Regions from separate parts of the Homo sapiens genome. Here all the other regions are linked to region 6. Evidence: promoter capture Hi-C in human tissues and cell types (Jung and others, 2019). All regions are on one chromosome and are shown on one strand. Each heading gives the region's core, a stretch centred on a gene start or on the middle of the fragment in contact. The rest is flanking DNA. Distances are from core to core; before and after follow the strand shown.

What was found. Contacts are between HindIII fragments. The study calls those that stand out against the background at their distance.
Region 1: a contact is called between the fragment with the promoter of CDC42EP2 here and the fragment with the promoter of ARL2 in region 6, in 1 of the 25 tissues and cell types used here (liver).
Region 2: the fragment with the promoter of DPF2 here is called in contact with the fragment with the promoter of ARL2 in region 6 in 1 of the 25 tissues and cell types used here (lymphoblastoid cells).
Region 3: the fragment with the promoter of TIGD3 here is called in contact with the fragment with the promoter of ARL2 in region 6 in 3 of the 25 tissues and cell types used here (dorsolateral prefrontal cortex, lymphoblastoid cells and spleen).
Region 4: the fragment with the promoter of SCYL1 here is called in contact with the fragment with the promoter of ARL2 in region 6 in 1 of the 25 tissues and cell types used here (dorsolateral prefrontal cortex).
Region 5: a contact is called between a fragment that was not itself captured here and the fragment with the promoter of ARL2 in region 6, in 1 of the 25 tissues and cell types used here (hippocampus).

Annotation. Positions count from the first base shown.
Region 1 is chr11:65,313,307-65,316,151 of GRCh38, forward strand. CDC42EP2 (CDC42 effector protein 2) reads left to right here and starts at 1,560. Exons shown (of 2, transcript NM_006779.4): 1 at 1,560-1,648. It overlaps LOC105369344 (a long non-coding RNA gene), which reads right to left and starts at 1,383. Exons shown (of 3, transcript XR_007062727.1): 1 at 465-1,383. RefSeq lists silencers at 1,218-1,597, 2,058-2,187, 2,358-2,517. The HindIII fragment of the contact is 18,736 bases long and covers 1-2,845 here.
Region 2 is chr11:65,332,530-65,335,229 of GRCh38, forward strand. DPF2 (double PHD fingers 2) reads left to right here and starts at 1,323. Exons shown (of 11, transcript NM_006268.5): 1 at 1,323-1,389. The coding sequence starts at 1,358. RefSeq lists an enhancer at 1,575-1,624 and a silencer at 1,675-1,764. The HindIII fragment of the contact is 14,713 bases long and covers 1-2,700 here.
Region 3 is chr11:65,353,498-65,356,197 of GRCh38, forward strand. TIGD3 (tigger transposable element derived 3) reads left to right here and starts at 1,254. Exons shown (of 2, transcript NM_145719.3): 1 at 1,254-1,460; 2 at 2,296-2,700. The coding sequence starts at 2,312. It overlaps DPF2 (double PHD fingers 2), which reads left to right. Exons shown (of 11, transcript NM_006268.5): 11 at 1-765. RefSeq lists silencers at 982-1,041, 1,132-1,451, 1,472-1,531, 1,542-1,711, 1,772-1,961. The HindIII fragment of the contact is 4,951 bases long and covers 1-2,700 here.
Region 4 is chr11:65,523,633-65,526,332 of GRCh38, forward strand. It overlaps SCYL1 (SCY1 like pseudokinase 1), which reads left to right and starts at 1,451. Exons shown (of 18, transcript NM_020680.4): 1 at 1,451-1,632; 2 at 1,942-2,082; 3 at 2,289-2,411; 4 at 2,492-2,700. The coding sequence starts at 1,522. RefSeq lists a silencer at 1,299-1,798. The HindIII fragment of the contact is 17,278 bases long and covers 1-2,700 here.
Region 5 is chr11:65,491,611-65,494,310 of GRCh38, forward strand. No RefSeq gene overlaps it. Among named protein-coding and RNA genes, the nearest start is that of LINC02736, 4.9 kb to the left of the region's middle. RefSeq lists silencers at 52-553, 2,248-2,542, enhancers at 228-522, 1,359-1,869, 1,870-2,381, 1,873-2,002, 2,248-2,542 and a cis regulatory region at 2,281-2,523. The HindIII fragment of the contact is 5,007 bases long and covers 1-2,700 here.
Region 6 is chr11:65,012,803-65,015,526 of GRCh38, forward strand. It overlaps ARL2 (ARF like GTPase 2), which reads left to right and starts at 1,358. Exons shown (of 5, transcript NM_001667.4): 1 at 1,358-1,470. The coding sequence starts at 1,406. ARL2-SNX15 (ARL2-SNX15 readthrough (NMD candidate)) reads left to right here and starts at 1,358. Exons shown (of 11, transcript NR_037650.2): 1 at 1,358-1,470. RefSeq lists a silencer at 1,205-1,964. The HindIII fragment of the contact is 13,144 bases long and covers 1-2,724 here.

The DNA.
Region 1 (2,845 bases), core at 310-2,809, 300 kb after region 6:
TACCTGGGACTACAGGCTTGAGCCACCATGTCCGGCTAATTTATTTGTTGTAGAAACAGGGTCTCACTATGTTGCTCAGGCTGGTGTCAGTGTCAAACTCCTGGACCCAAGCAATCCTCCCACCTTGGCCTCCCAAAGTGCTGGGATTATAGGCATGAGCCACAGCACCTGGCTAGATGTGAACATATTTAGGGGGGCTGTTATTTTACCTACCATGATCCCCTTCTTCCCATCCGGACCTCCCAGCTTGTCTGGCATCTTCCCCCACCCCCAGCATCCTGCCTCCCCCACTGAGGTCTTCCCGGCTCTGCCTCCCTAAAAGCCCTTCCCACACTGACAGCATTGAAGCCAACCATCCTGGTCACACTGAGCTGGCATAGCTGTCATCCTCTAGAAAGTGAGGTCTGTCCACCCCGTCACTACCCACCACTTCCTCTGCCCCACTCTTCTTAGCACTTACCCACCTGGAAGGGTATCATGATGTACCTGGGAACTTGGATTTCCCCCATTTCCCTTCTCTGGGCTGCAGGTCCCAATCCAGAGGCTGAATCCCCAGGGACAAGAACAGCGCTAGGCACTTGGTAGATACTCAACAAATCTCTCTTGAGTCACTGAGAGGTGCAGTTTCCTTCAGTCTGTCTCCAGCACCCTGTGCGGTGCCTGCCCTTCAAAACATGTTTCTGGGCCGGGCGCGGTGGCTCACGCCTGTAATTGCAGCACTTCGGGAGGCCGAGGCGGGCAGATCACTTGAGGTCGGGAATTCGAGACCAGCCTGGCCAACATGGAGAAACTCCGTCTCTACTAAGAATACAAAAATTAGCCAGGTGTGCTGGCACATGCCTGTAATCCCAGCTACTCGGGAGGCTGAGGCAGGAGAATCTCTTGAACCCAGGAGACGGAGGTTGCGGTGAGCAGTCTGGGCAACAAGAGCGAAACTCTGTCTCAAAAAAAAAAAAAGTTTCTGGCCCTGTAGGAATGACTGACTGACTGACTGAAAGAATGAATGGACCAGGAACTAGTCTGAATATGAGCCCCACCTTCACTCTGGAAGCCTGACAGCAAAGACGGGGGTCCAGGCCACGCGGCCTCTGCCTTCCCATACTGTCTTTTCTAGTGGGAGGTAAACTGATCAACTAGCTTGTAAGTTTGTAGTATTCTAACGTAGGCGCTTCCAAGGAAGTCGCTGAATATACTTGTGCCGGCGCTTCCCCGACGCAGCCCTGCAGGGAAGGATCCGGTCCAAGGTCTCTCTGCGATTTCTGAAGAATTCGGTCTTCCCGGAGCCTCTCCCCCGGCTCTTCTAGAACCGAAGGTTTTAGTTCCCATGGGCACAGCCGGAGGCCGCCTGCGCCACCCGGCCCTCAGCCGCCAGAACCAGGACAGGACTCCAGGGCGCGCGCGACCGCTGGACCCGGGAGCGGCACCTCCCACGCCGGGAGCCCCGGGCGGTGCCCGGAGTGGGGCGGGGCCTGGGCGGGGATGGGGAGGGGCTTGGCTGGCGCGGCCCCGGCATTGGCTCCGCGGGCCGGGGCGGGGCTGCGGGGTCCGCGGTGCACTCTGTAAGTTCACCGCCGGTCGGGTCCGGCCGCCGCGCTGTCCAGCTCCTGAGACCTTGCTGTCCGCCGGTCTGCCGTCTGCGCGCCTCACGGTGAGTTCGGGCTGGGATTTTCGCAGCTTCGCGGGGGTCCCCCGAGAGGCCCATCTCTGTGGCGCCCCGCCCCAGCTCGCGCCCTGGCTCTGCCTCTCACCTCACTCAGTTCCTTTCGAGGGCTCCTAGGGCTCCATGGGGCTTCCCACCCGCATCTGGGTTCCCGCAGCCTCGCCCGTGCCCGCCACGGTCCGTGGGGGCGCAACGCATCCCGACCCCGAATTCCCCGTTCTGCCCTCCATTTTGTGTCCGGGCCCCCGCCCCCCTCCCGAGACCCAGGGGTGCCCCGCCGCCCAGCATCCCCACCGGGGCTGGGGGCCGTATTTTTAGCCGATAGTGAGTTGTTCTCCTATCTTTAGCTGCGGCCGCGAATGTCCTGAAACGGATCCGGGCTGGGCTGGGCTCCGCCCGGGTAGGAGTGGGGAGGGGTCGGCGCAGGAACCCGAGCCGGAGCTAAGGAGCCGGACCCGTGGGAGGGGCGGGGGCCCGCACGCCCGAGCTCTGGCCCTGTGCCGAGCGGACACTAGGACATCGCCCAGGCCGGAAAGCACAGGGGGGAGGCTCCTCCCAGAGCTTGGAGACTAGGGCAGGGTCCCCAATCGCCCCCTTTTTCCCCGATTGTGGGACCAGAAACCCCGAAGCAAAAAGATCTCGCAGGTAATCCCCATCTGGTACTTGAACGCGCAGCTCCTTGGGGACCGCCTGCCTGGAGCCCGGGGGAGGGGCGCTGGAGACCCCGGTGCGCTCTCGGAGTCCTCCGGGACACGAGGCGATCAAGGGAGCACGCGCGCCACCTGGCGGCCGCGGAGCCGGGCACCTCTCCGGAGGCACCGGGACCCCGGGAGACCCAGCGGCCGCTAGAGGGTCTCTGCATCCTCGAGGTCTAGGAGGGCGGGAGGAGGTGGACGCCTGGGGTCAGGAGCCCTTCGTTTTTGCTATTGTTCAAAGCACTGGCCCCGGAGAATCGAAGTGCTTGAGGAAGGAAGGCCTTGTAGATATTTGCTGAATGAATGATAAAACCTACAGTGACCCGCTGAACCCCGCTATTGTACATTGGCGCTCTCACCTGCAATATTGCAGTGGGATCTCCAGTGGCCCTTTAGTGGTGGCTTCGTTGTCAGCCCATTTTATAGATGGGAAAGGTGAGACCCAGAGAGGAGAGGCGTCTTGCTGAAGGTTACTGAGGAAGTCCCAGGT
Region 2 (2,700 bases), core at 73-2,572, 320 kb after region 6:
CTCCGCCTCCCAGGTTCACGCCATTCTCCCACCTCAGCCTCTCCAGTAGCTGGGATTACAGGCGTCCGCCACCATGCCCGGCTAATTTTGTTTTTGTATTTTTAGTAGAGATGGGGTTTCACCATGTTAGCCAGGACGGTCTCGATCTCCTGACCTCGTGATCCGCCCACCGTGGCCTCCCAAAGTGCTGGTATTACAAGCGTGAACCAATGCTCCTGGCCTGTTTTTTTTTGTTTTTTTTTTTTAAGAGACAGGATCTTGCTATGTTGCCCAGGCTGGTCTTGAACCCCTGGGCTCAAGTGATTCTCCCACCTCACCCTCTCAAGTAGCTGGGATTACAGGCATGAGGCATTGCACTCAGCTTCTTGTACAGCTTTCTTGTGTGTATATCCAGGAGTGGACTTTGCTGGGTCATAGGGTATGTGTATTTTCAGCTTTAGTGATTATATTTATATATATATATATATATATACATATGTATATATATACATATGTATATATATGTGTATATATATATATGTATATATGTGTATATATATATGTGTATATATATATGTATATATATTTTTTTTCCTTTTTTTTTTTTTTTTTCTTGAGATGGAGCCTCGCTCTGTTGCCCAGGCTGGAGTGCAGTGATGTGGCTCCAGTGGCTCACTGGAGCCTCAAACTCCTGGGCTCAAGTGATCCTCCCACCTCAGCCTCCCTAGTAGCTGGGATTACAGGCATGCACCACCATGCCCAGCTAATCTTTTTTCTTTTTCTTTTTTTCCTTTATTTATTTATTTATTTATTGAGAAGGAGTCTCGCTCTGTCGCCCAGGCTGGAGTGCAGTGGCGCGATCTCGGCTCACTGCAAACTCCGCCTCCCGGGTTCACGCCATTCTCCTGCCTCAGCCTCCCGAGTAGCTGGGACTACAGGCGCTCGCCACCACACCCGGCTAATTTTTTGTATTTTTAGTAGAGACGGGGTTTCACCGTGTTAGCCAGGATGGTCTCCATGTCCTGACCTCGTGATCCGCCCGCCTCGGCCTCCCAAAGTGCTGGGATTACAGGCGTGAGCCACCGCGCCCGGCCCCGGCTCCTGCTCCTCTAAATATTAGAGGCAAGCCTCGAACCGGAGCTCCGGGATGCATGCCAATCTCCGGTTGCGCCTGCGCGTCGGGCTCCCGTGGGGTCCACGCATTTCCTACCCGGCCCCCGCGAACAGGCGTAAAGCTCTTTCTTCAGTGCTCGCTCTAGTGCGCGCGCCCGGACGGCGCCTGCGCAGAGGGCAAGGAACCTGGTACCCCGGTGCGGTCCCGGCGCCTGCGCGCTGCGGACTGTGGGGCTTCTCGGCCCGAGGCAGAGGAACAGGGAAGATGGCGGCTGTGGTGGAGAATGTAGTGAAGCTGTGAGTGGTCGTTTCTTTCTCTCCTAGGGCGGCAGGTTTTGTAAAGGGCCTGGGAGTAGGGGGCGGTGGGGGAAGGGACTAGGCGGAGAGAGGGACATCCCCGGGAAAGCCATGTTGCGACTCCTGGTGGGGAGGGCAACAGGAGACTCCGGAGAAGACGTTGCGCTTCTTTGGAAACTTGTGGAGGCCCTGGTGGGGGCACACTGGAGCCCCGACGGGCGGCATCCCTGCGGGGCTGTGTGGCCTCAGCGTTCCTCGGGGCTGACGGTTTCCAGAGCATGGCGCCCTGCCTGCACGCGAGACTCACCGTCCCGGTCCTCTCCCGAGACGCCTCAGTCCGGAGGAGCGGGGCCGAGGCCCGGGCGGCCCTACGGCTGGCCCGCCGCCCACCCCGCCCCGTCCCGTCCCGTTCGCTGCAGCAACAGGCTCGGCGGCCCCTGCGGAGTGCACTGCGGGGCTGGCTGTTTCAGTTCCAGGCAGCCCCGTGATGTTTGGGAGGATCTTGGGTGGCAGGTACCTAAGACTACAAATATTCTTGGGAAGAATTTATCGAGGAGCGGATCCAGAAGGGAAGGAACTTCAGGGGAGTGGGCCTTGGCCCCGTCCAGTAGCAGCCATCAAAAACCTGCAACTGGACCGAAGCCGTTCAGGACAGCTTAGCCTAAAGGGGCATCTAGGTGGGCATTCTTCCTATTATACGATACCATTGTGCTGGTCAGATTTCAAGCAAAGTTAAAGTTAATAGCTGTTGGGGCCATGGACGCTGGCCTATGAACTGCTTCCTGTGAGTTAAAGATGCTTTGGGACTTGATTTATTCCTACAGAAGAATCAGAATGAGTTTTAGATTGGGTTAATGCATGGTGGGCGAATAGAGCTTCTTTTAATGGGTATGTTGGGCTTGGTGCAAGGGTGGGAAAATTGAGTGGTGTCTAGCTGTCCAGTCAGGGTTTTTGCATTTTGACTGGATGACGAGGTAAAGGTTCGGTAACTCTTCTAAGGGACTCACAGCTTCTCATCTGTCTTTGTCGTGGCCTGAGCCCCACTCTTCCTAAGAGCCTTTTTAAAGAGTAAGTTGCTTCTCCCTCCTGCCTGAAGCCTTTTCTTTGAGAATGCTTTCCCACTTCCATTAAGCTAAGTGCCTTTCCTCCTCTTGTGGTTTGTTTTTTTTTTTTTTAAGTTGCTTTCTGCTCTATCCTGCTGTCTCTTTCAGCCACCCCTCCTCCCAACGCTATTGTCTTTCTCTCTGATCTGCCCACTCCAGTTTCCCCAGCTCTTTCTTCAGGCTGACATTTTTCTCAATTTAGAAATGA
Region 3 (2,700 bases), core at 4-2,503, 340 kb after region 6:
AGTGCTCTAGGATCTGAACTGCCCGCAGTGCAGCCCTGCAGCCTTTCCCAGGGCACGTTGATGTGCACACAGTTTCCCTGAAGGCAAAGTGAACATGTGGAGAGCTTACGTGGCAGCGCGTATGTCTTCAGTGTGTGTTTTAGAAGTCCAACTGTTGTTTTTATGTTTTTAAAGGAAAGATTTGAATCAAGCAGTTATGGGCCCCCTGAAGTATCCTTTTTTCTAGAACATTCTGAAAGTCATCCTTGCCTATGGGAAGCCTAGGCCGGCCTGCACTGTTATGTTCAATAAATAAGCAGGGTGCTCTGGGCTGGGGATTGTGTGAGGAGCAGAGCGCAGCCCGTCCTCATGCTTTTCCACTGAAGTAGGCCAGGCAGAGAGGGAGTACAGCAATGGATGCGCTTTGGCAGCTGAGTAGTCCGAGAGCCAGAAAAGAAATGTGGAAAATAAGAACGCTGTAGCAGGCCTAGGTGAGGAAATTTAGGAAGGGTTTGCGGGAGGTAGGATTTGAGATGGGTCTTGGAGAGTTGGACAGTGTCAGCCGGTAGGACGGGGGTGCGGACGGAAGCCTGTGAGGAAGGCAGAGGATGCGGAGCTGTGAGCGGAGGGAGCAGCGAGGCTGGAGAGCAGCTGGGCTGCGGGTCAAGACGTCTGCGTTTAATTCGGGACTGAAGGTTAGCAGGGAAGGGAACGATGCCAGATCTTGAGTTTAAGAACTTGAATCTTGTAAAGTACCAAATCTAATAAAATACTCGTCCTAAATCATTACTGGCCCAAGCATGCAGTGTTTCCGTGGCCGACAGACTCGAGCCAGCGCTGTCCATGGTAACCAGCTTTTGTGTGGCTTAAAGCTTGCATCCATTTTCTCCTTTCATCGTTTTCCCAAAACAATTCCGTGAGGGCTGTTAGCCCTGCTTGGTAGACGAAGAAGCCGATGCGGTCTAGGGTCACGGCCAGGGAGGCTTTGGGACGCCAAGTCAGCTCGGCGGTCACCACACCACCTACAGGGCTCGTCGGGCCCTCGGGGTCGGCGGCTGCTGGAGGCGCCCAGGGGAGTCCTGCTGGTTCCTGGCTCCGCCTCCCGCCCCTCCGCGCTAGAAGCCCCGCCCCCAGAGGGGCTCGACGAACCGCCACTTCCGCAACGTCCAATGAAACTTAGCCGGGGGAGGGACGGGGCGCCACTGAGGACCAATCTGCTTGGGCCGGGGCGGGGCTGCGGCGGGTGGGTGCAGAGGGGCCGCACCGCGGACTTCGCAGCCGGGAGAGAGCCCGGCGCGGGCGGCGCGCACGGGACTCTGCTGTGCGCGCGCCCGCCCGCCCGCCGTCCGCGCAGGCCCTCGGTCCGCTCTGCCCTCGGGGTCGTGGCGCCCATCCCTCCCCTGTTCTGCTGTCGCCGCCCGGACAGGGGCTCGGGAGCCGGGCTGGGGGCAGGGGCTGGAGCCGCGGGACCAGCGCCTGAGGTGGGTGCGGAGCGGGAGGCCGGGCGGGCGGGCGCCTGGGGCCGCCCCGCCGACATACTCCGGGTCGAGGGGGAGTGACCGGCCAGGGCACGGAGTCCGGCTGCCGGCCTGCCTGGGTCCGGGCGTTCGTTCCCGCGCCCTGGGACCCTCCCAGGCCACCACCCTCCCCGCGGGGACACCCCGCCCCTCCGCTGCCCGCAGCCTCCTCAGGCCTCCCGCCCTTTGTCGCTCGTGCACCTGCGCCCTCGGCCCTGCCCTCTCGCTCCCCTCAGGACTGACCGTCGCCTAGCCTCCCTCTCAGGACCCGGCACCAAATTAGCCTCGCTCCTTCAGACACCCTCTGTCCCCTTTGTCGTCTGTACACCTGTCACCTCAACTCTGTGTGCATCCACCCACCTCCCACCCCCCAGCGGCGTCATCTGAATCCAGCCCAAGCCGCCTCCCACTCCCTCCCGGGGGCTCCTCCCCCGCAGCCCCGTAGCCCCACACCTGCCCCCTCGGCCCCAGTCCCAGGCCCTCCCCCGTCCGTATGCCTTTGTTATCTCTGCAGCTGTCCCCTGCACTTTTCATCCTTCTTCCCGAGTGAGGCCAGACCCCAGCCCAGACTCCCCTGTCCTTCTGAGTGGAGAGACGCCCCCTCCCCAGCTCTGCCCTGGCATCCTGGGGACGGGGCCAGCCGGCTTCCACTCGGCCTAGCCACTTCCTCTTTCAGCGGGTCCAGTCTCACCCGGTGCCTGCGCAAGTCCTCATCTAATCTCTTTTCCCTCCTGCGCTCCTTTCCTAGCTCTTCCGGCCTCAGATTACTCTACCCGCTCAATCTTTCCTCCCCGCACAGGTGCCCCGGAGAGGCCATGGAGCTGAGCAGCAAGAAGAAGCTTCACGCCCTGTCCCTGGCCGAGAAGATCCAGGTGCTGGAACTCCTGGATGAGTCCAAGATGTCCCAGTCGGAGGTGGCCCGGCGCTTCCAGGTTTCCCAGCCCCAGATCTCGCGCATCTGCAAGAATAAGGAGAAGCTGCTGGCGGACTGGTGCAGCGGCACAGCCAACCGAGAGCGCAAGCGCAAGCGGGAGTCCAAGTACAGCGGGATCGACGAGGCTCTGCTCTGCTGGTACCACATTGCCCGGGCCAAGGCCTGGGACGTGACGGGGCCCATGCTGCTCCACAAAGCCAAGGAGCTGGCCGATATCATGGGCCAGGACTTCGTGCCCAGCATCGGCTGGCTGGTCCGCTGGAAACGCCG
Region 4 (2,700 bases), core at 201-2,700, 510 kb after region 6:
CTCGTATACTGAGTGTGCCGGTCCCCTGGGCCCACTGTTCTTTCTCTATACTTTGTGTCTTATTTCTTTTCTCAGTCTCTTGTCTCCACCTGACGAGAAATACCCACAGGTGTGGAGGGGCAGGCCCCCTTCAAACATGTTGGTCAGGCTGACCTGGAACTCCTGACCTCAGGTGATCCTCCAGCCTCGGCCTCCCAAAGTGCTGAGATTACAAGCGTGAACCACTGTGCCTGGCCCTCACCCCAGTTTATAGATGGGGGACCTAACGCACCCAAAGGGAACTGTGTGAGTTCTCACATCCAATGAGGGGCTGAACCGTGATTGAAACCCAGCACCGTCTCACTGTGGCATCTCTGCCCTTGAGTTATCTCCCAAAGGCATCCCAACCAGACTTTTCATAACCAGTCCCAGAATCTCACCAGTGCTCCATAGCTGTGGTTGAGGCACTGTCCCCAAGCCTGGGTCCTGAGACCCTACCAGCAGAAGAACCACTGCCTGTCCAGCCCCTCCTACACAGCTCAGGGGCTGGATCCCCACCAGTGTGATGTGCTGATTGAGCTAACACCACTCCATGGCTGTCTACACAGGCACTGAGAGATGCAATCCGTTGGCTTGAGAGCCGGGCAGCTGAGCCCAGGAGAGCAGGGTCCCCTCCCAGCCCTTTGGCCTCTTCCAGACCTGCCCAGTTGCTCCTTCTCCCTCCCTCCTTTCCTGGGGTCACTTCTTCTTCCCTCCTCAGTCTCTCCTTCCTCCATTCCCTGGGTGCCCGCCCCTGCCCCGGGGTTCTGGACCTCCTTGGAACCTTGGATTCACTCTCTGCCTCTCACCCACGCTCTTTCTCTGGGGCGTCTCCTCGTGCTTCTCTCATGGTCACTTCACCAGGACCGACTCCTCCCCGGAGCCTGGAGGCACCCACTTGCTGGTGGGAGAGAGTGTCTGGCGTGGGGCCAGTCTCCCTCTCTGGGTCTCTGCCTCACTCCTCACTGCACCCTCTCATGCCTGTCAGTCTTTCTACCTCTCCCCCTTTTTGCCTCGGTTTCCCCATCCCTCTGTCCCTTCTTAAGCTCTCATCCTTACAGTACGCTAGAAGGCAGGCTCTATTATCCTTTAGGATTTAGGCCTCTTTAGATAAAAGGGCTCACAGGCTTGGAGGGTTTTAAGTGACTTACCCGGCGGCGGAGTACTGATCTTAGTACCGCCCGCCGCCCCGGACTGCCCCGCCCCTCCCTAGCCCCCCCATCCCCGCCCCTCCCTAGCCCCCCCATCCCCGCCCCTCCCTAGCCCCCCCATCCCCGCCCCTCTCCCGCCCCTCCCTTGTCCCCGCCCCTTCCCGCCCCAACTCAGGTTCTGCCCCACCCCGCCCCAATTCACGTCCTGCTCCGCCCCGACGTAGGCCCCGCCCTGGCCCCCGGGCCCCGCCCCCGTCTGACGCAGGCCCCGCCCCCTCTCCGCCCCGCCCCGGCTCGGGCGGCCGGAGGACCCGGAGCTAAGGCGCCCGAACCCGCGGCGGCGGTGGGGACGATGTGGTTCTTTGCCCGGGACCCGGTCCGGGACTTTCCGTTCGAGCTCATCCCGGAGCCCCCAGAGGGCGGCCTGCCCGGGCCCTGGGCCCTGCACCGCGGCCGCAAGAAGGTGAGTGCGGCCGAGCTCCGTAGGCCGCGGTCGACCTGGGCCTTGCCTATTCCGCGCCGCCGACCCCGTCGCGTTGCGCCCGGCCTGACGTGGCGGCGGAACCAAGGGGTAGCAGGCCGGGGAGGGGGCGGGCAGTGCCTACGTGGCGGGCGGAGGGACCGAGGGACCGACAGGCGGACAGGGCCGGGGTCACGTGGGCCCGGCGAAGTGTCCCTAAGGCTGACCTGGGGAGAGACCTGGCTGCGGGCCCTTGTCTTCCGGCCACACAACAGCTCTGGGACCATCTCAGGCCCCGCTGCCCTCCCCTAGGCCACAGGCAGCCCCGTGTCCATCTTCGTCTATGATGTGAAGCCTGGCGCGGAAGAGCAGACCCAGGTGGCCAAAGCTGCCTTCAAGCGCTTCAAAACTCTACGGCACCCCAACATCCTGGCTTACATCGATGGACTGGAGGTACCTGCTGCCTTGCCTGCCCGTCTCTGCCCCTCACGATGTCCTGGTTACCCACTCCTGTCTCCCCTCCTGCCCTGTTTCCACCCTATGTGCCCCAGCACCCCCAGATTTGGTTTCCTCTTCCCCATCTCTCCCAACTTCAAGTCGCTTATCTCTCCTTCCTCTCTGCCCCTCCGCCCTTGATAACCCTGTGTCCCCTTCCCCAGACAGAAAAATGCCTCCACGTCGTGACAGAGGCTGTGACCCCGTTGGGAATATACCTCAAGGCGAGAGTGGAGGCTGGTGGCCTGAAGGAGCTGGAGATCTCCTGGGGGCTACACCAGATCGTGGTGAGGTGGGGGGCAGTGGTGATGAGAGCAGGGATGGGGGGTTGCAGGTGCTGGGGCGTGATGGCTCCTTTTGCCCCCAGAAAGCCCTCAGCTTCCTGGTCAACGACTGCAGCCTCATCCACAACAATGTCTGCATGGCCGCCGTGTTCGTGGACCGAGCTGGCGAGTGGAAGCTTGGGGGCCTGGACTACATGTATTCGGCCCAGGGCAACGGTGGGGGACCTCCCCGCAAGGGGATCCCCGAGCTTGAGCAGTATGACCCCCCGGAGTTGGCTGACAGCAGTGGCAG
Region 5 (2,700 bases), core at 162-2,661, 480 kb after region 6:
TGATCCACTATTACCAGTTCAGGAGAAGGCCCTGTCATTCTGCGGGCTTCTGTTTTAATCCGGCATTGTTGAGAAACACACCCCGACAAAGTGCCTGAAACCTTGTGGCCGCTACCCCCTTGTCCCAGGAGATGTGTGTCTGTGGGATGTGGGCCACACTTGCATGAGGAAGAATGAATATACGTGTGTGTGTGTGTGTGTGTGTGTGAGCATGCTCATGGAGGATGTTTAATCAGCTTCATGCTGGGTGTGCCAGGCCAATACAAACATCTGCCAGGGACCTGAAGCATGACTGAAAAGATCAGGGACACAAGAACGCGGCTGCGACTCCCTGAGAGCTTCATTGTTCCTTCAGGCCACTTGGGAAGGTTCACTCAGCAGGCGTCTCCCGCGGTGACTCATCATGGGGCAAGGACAGCAAGGGCTGAGCCGGGCTCACTACCCTGCACTGGGCAGGGGGCGGGTAGGAGGTAGAGGGGTGAATGCTCCATCAGAGCTGCATGGAAACCACAGGTGGCCTCTGGGTTTTCTCCCCTGTCTCTGTGGATGGCAGTTGGTTCAGAAGTTCTGAACAGACCTCCAGAGCAAAGCAGTTCCCAGTTTCCCACGCAGTACAGCTAGCTCAGTCCCATTCCACTCCATCCTGATGGGCATTCGAATTTACGTCAAGTCTAAATCCGTTCTGTTCCTGTGGAATGATCTGTTCCTGTGGAATGATCTGTTCCTGTGGGAGCTTTTCAGTATTCTGGTTGTGTGTGTGTGTGTGTGTGTGTGTGTTATAAATTCCAAAAAAGATACTATTCCAATGTATTCATTGAGTCATTACTCAGTAGACACACATGGAGCTTCTACTGTGTGCCAGGCTCTAGTGATCTGGCAAATGACAGCTCTTTGCCTCAGTTTCCTCATCCGTCTAAGGGGAAAGCAACACCACCTCCCCCACAGGGCTGTTGTGAGGCACAGCACTCAATACACGTTACAGAAAATAAAGATGCACATGGAGTGGATAGACGGTTCTACAGACGCAGCCCCCAGGAAGGCATGGGGGACAGCCCAGTTGTGCCCCTCGATGTCAATCTGTCCTCCTACAGCCCACAGTGCTACAGCTGGGCTGCCACAGCCAGGCCTTTCGGGAGGATCCACCAATAGGCTTCAGGGCCCAGGGCCAAGTACATTACGCAGCAAATAGACCAAGGAAGGAACTAGGAGCCTGGAACTCTCAGGCAGGGGGTGGGGAATTGCTTTCTTAAGACACTTTCTCCTAAGAAAGAACAACAACAACAAAAAAGACACTTTCTCCTTTATTCCCCTCCCCGAAAGAGGATTCTATCTAACAAGGAATGCTTGCTAGAAGTAGAGGTGGGTACATTTAGAAGATGTTTTCTTGTCTCAGGAAGAGAGAATCTGTTTCCCCTACCCTCCTGCCCTGGTGATTCAGGGCTGTGATGGAAGAGGCCCCAGCTGCCTCTTCCGCATATCATTTTGGGAAGGTCAATGACACAGCCACTTCTAGTTTCTGTAACTCATTCTTGCTGGAATTGCCCTCAGCTCTCTGTGAAGTGACAGGCCTGTCTGCTGGGTTTCAAGGGATAATTTTACATGTTCTACAGGGTAAATTATTAGCTGTCCAAAACCCCCTAGAAAACAATGCTCTGTCTTCCATATCATAGAGCTCTGAGCTGCATCATCTCTGTAGGTTTTTTCCTGCTGTGGGGGCGGTCACAGTAGGTGAGGGAGCCTAAGTTTGTGCAGCAGCTACGGAAGGTCACATTGTTCCAGAAATCGGCTCTGGGAAGGTGGGCAGCCAGGGGATGGGATTGGGAACTGCAAATTCCTAAAATCTTTAGAAAACAAGAAAGTTTGGGCTGGGTGTGGTGGTTCATGCCTGTAATCCCAGCACTTTTGGAGGCAGAGACAGGCGGATCACTTAAGGTCAGGAGTTTCAGACCAGCCTAGCCAACATGGTAAAACCCTGTCTCTACTAAAAATATGAAAACTAGCCGGGCATGGTGGCAGGCACTTGCAATCCCAGCTACTTGGGAGGCTGAAGCAGGAGAATCACCTGAACCCGGAAGGCAGAGGTTACAGTAAGCTGAGATCCCGTCACTGCACTCTAGCCTGGGTGACAAGAGCAAAAAACTGTCTCAAGGAAAAAAAAAAAAACAAAAACCAAGAAAGTTGTTTTCTTGGGACTGTCTTTGCCCTTCATTTCTGACCTGCATTTCTAGAGAGCTCTAGAAATGCAGAATTAAAGAAAAAATTACAGGATTAGATAAAATCAAAGGAGGCCTGGGAGGAATCCAGGTGCCATGAAGACTCAGCCACTGCGGCCTCTGGGCTCCAGGGCCGTAGATGACGGATCTCTCAGAAGCTTGTCTCTTGACTAAGCCTGACTGGACTTGCCAATCAGGGAAGGGGTGGAGTGGATTCTGGCATTCTCTGGAGGTTTCCGGCCTGGCCTGAGTCAGGAGGATTAAGGTAGGGCCTTGCTGACTGTATGCTTGGAGGCTGGATGCAAAATTTTTGCCCTTTTAGTCCTTTTCAGCACCCCGCCTTCTCGAAGGTACAGCCAGGAGGCCTAAGATCTTTCCTTTTTCTTTTTTTTTCAGACAGTCTTGCTCTGTTGCCAGGCTGGAGTGCAGTGGCACCATCTCAGCTCACTGCAACCTCTGCCTCTCGGGTTCAAGCGATTCTCTTGCC
Region 6 (2,724 bases), core at 108-2,607:
TCGTGATCCACCTGCCTCGGCCTCCCAAAGTGCTGGGTTTACAGGCGTGAGCCATGGCGCCCGGCCAGCATTTCCCATTTTGATCTTAGCTGCATTTCGAAGCCTCTGGGTAGGCGATATGCTCACTTTCTTCCTTGTGTGTGTGTGATGGAGGGTAAATGGTGCTGACCGAAGGGTCCCACTCAGGCAGCCTATCTGTTCAGCCCTCCTCTGACCACAAGCCCCTTTCTGCAAGATGGGAAGCTCCAGCTTCTTCCAGACCTCTCTCTAGGCAAACTTCATGGAGGCATGAAGACATTGTGCTTTACCATTTACTAGACCTGAGTTTGAATCTCACCCATGCTCCTTAAACACTCTGGATTCCATTATCATAGCTACGAAAAGAATATAAACCTCTCAGGGTTGCAGGGAGGATGAAGCTGAACACGTGAAGTGCGTTGCAAACAGTTACACAGGAGTTAGCTATTGTCCTCAGCTGGTGCTGACAGCTCTTTCCCAAGCATGAGAGAGGCTCTTCCGTGCTGCCTATCCACACTTACCTGCAGCAATAAGGCTGTCTCCTGAGTTTACAAAAGGGCTTGGTCCTTGACCTATTTCCTCACTTCTTCTGGACTTCTTGAGCGCTAAAGTAAAGAATGAAACTCTTGGACAAAGCCATTCATTCAACAACAAATATTTATTGAGCACCTACTACATGCCAGCCACTGTGCTAAGCACCATCTGGGCCTCAGTTTTTCCATCTGCAAAAGTAGGAACTGTGCTTCTGAACAGGGAAACGCTGGGCCTCTGGGTGGGGGCAGCCTTTGGGGCGGGACTGCAATTCCGTCATTGGAACCCAGGGACGCCCCGCATGTTTCCGAACGGCCTCCAGGGGGCACCGCCGCCCTGAACTGAGAGCCACCGGAGCCGGGTAGGGGGAGGCCCAACTTTCCGCTCTGTCAGAGGATGATGCCGAGGGCCCAGATGAGCAGGATTTGGACTGTGTTGCTGGGAACGGGGGCCTACACTGGCCCCAGGATGAGTTCGTCCGTACCTGGGGGCCCTGGGTTCTGACTCTCAGGTCAGACGCAGCCAAGATGCAACTCAGGAACTTCAAGGTTTCCGCTCCGGCCAAGAGCCCCAGTCCGGCAGGGGAAAGGGTGGGGGAGTCGCCCTTGCTCCCCCAGCCTCAGCCCTCGGGAGGCGCAGCGTCAGGGCGGGCGGCAGCACAGAAACCCCCCGCGCCGCTAGAGGGACCCTCGCAGCAGCTGCGCGGGCGACCTCGCGGTCACGTGCGGCAAGGGCGGGACCAAACGAGCGTCCGGCCAATCGACTATGCCGTCGGCGAGCGTGATAGCCAACAGGAACCGGGAGCGGGGTCCCGGGACTGGGAAGAAACGGCGGCCGGGAGGGGGCTCCGGGGACCATGGGGCTCCTGACCATTCTGAAGAAGATGAAGCAGAAAGAGCGGGAGCTGCGACTGCTCATGCTGTATCCTACCGGACGCCGGAACCGCGAGGGTGGCGGGGTCCAGCCGGGCAGGCGGTGCCGGGCGCCCCCTGTCGGGAGCGGAACGCGGCGGCCGGCGCGTCCCAACTGCCCCTGGCGTCACCACGCGGGCCCCATCAATCGCCCCGTCGGGCCGGGAGGAGCCGCACCCCAGGACTGGGGCAGGGGCCAGCTCCGAGGGCCGCAGAAGCGGTCCTGCAGGCGCAGCGGCGGGGCTAGGCGGCCCGAGTGTCAGGGGTGGTGGGTCCCGGAGATAACTCGGACGCCACCACCCGGCGGCCTGGCCCAAGCGTGGGGCCGCTGCCCTCCCGGCTCTGATCTCCTCCCCCGGGCCCGAGGGTTCCAGGCCCCGGCCCCGCCCTCGAGCTCCGAATCCCGGGGGCGTGCGGGGTGGCGGGTGGCGCGTGTGGGCTCCGCGGATCCTTTCGAGCGTGGATCCAACAGTCCGTCTCTTTGGTGTTACGCGGCCCGTGGTTGTCCCTGCGGCTGAGGATGTGTGTGTGTGGGCCCGAGTGTCCCGTGCGCCCTGTGCGCCTTCTGAGTCCAGTTAGGCGCCCGCACCTGTTCCCCCAGCTCTGTGCCAGGCTCCGCGGGGGAATGGCTGGGGAGATAAGACGCTTACGTGCACATATAACTTAATAATCACATCATGACTGTTTTGTTTTTTGAGACAGGGTCTTGCTCTGTTGCCCTGGCTGGAGTGCAGTGGCACAATCAAGGCTCACCGCAGCCTCCAGCTTCTAGGCTTAAGTGATCCTCCTGCCTCAGCCTCCCAAAACTCTGGGAATATAGGCATGAGCCACGGAGTCCGGCCCATGTCTGTTTTATTTTGTTTTGTTTGAGACGGAGTTTCGCTCTTGTTGCCCAGGCTGGAGTGCAGTGGCACAATCTCAGCTCGCTGCAACCTCCGCCCCCCGAGTTCAAGCAATTCTCCTGCCTCAGCCTCCCAAGTAGCTGGGATTACAGGTGCCCGCCACCACGCCCGGCTATTTTTTTAAATATTGTTAGTAGAGACGGGGTTTCACCTTGTTGGTCAGGCTGTTCTCGAATTCCTGACCTCAAGTGATCCACCCGCCTTGGCCTCCCAAACTGTTGGGATTATGGGCGTGAGCCACTGCGCCGGGCCGCATGTCTGCTTTAAAGAGCTCTAAGAAAAGCATACAGTTCACTCATTTGATAAATATTGAGTGCCTAATATGTGCTAGACACTGTCCTAGTGCCCAGGGTAATAAAACT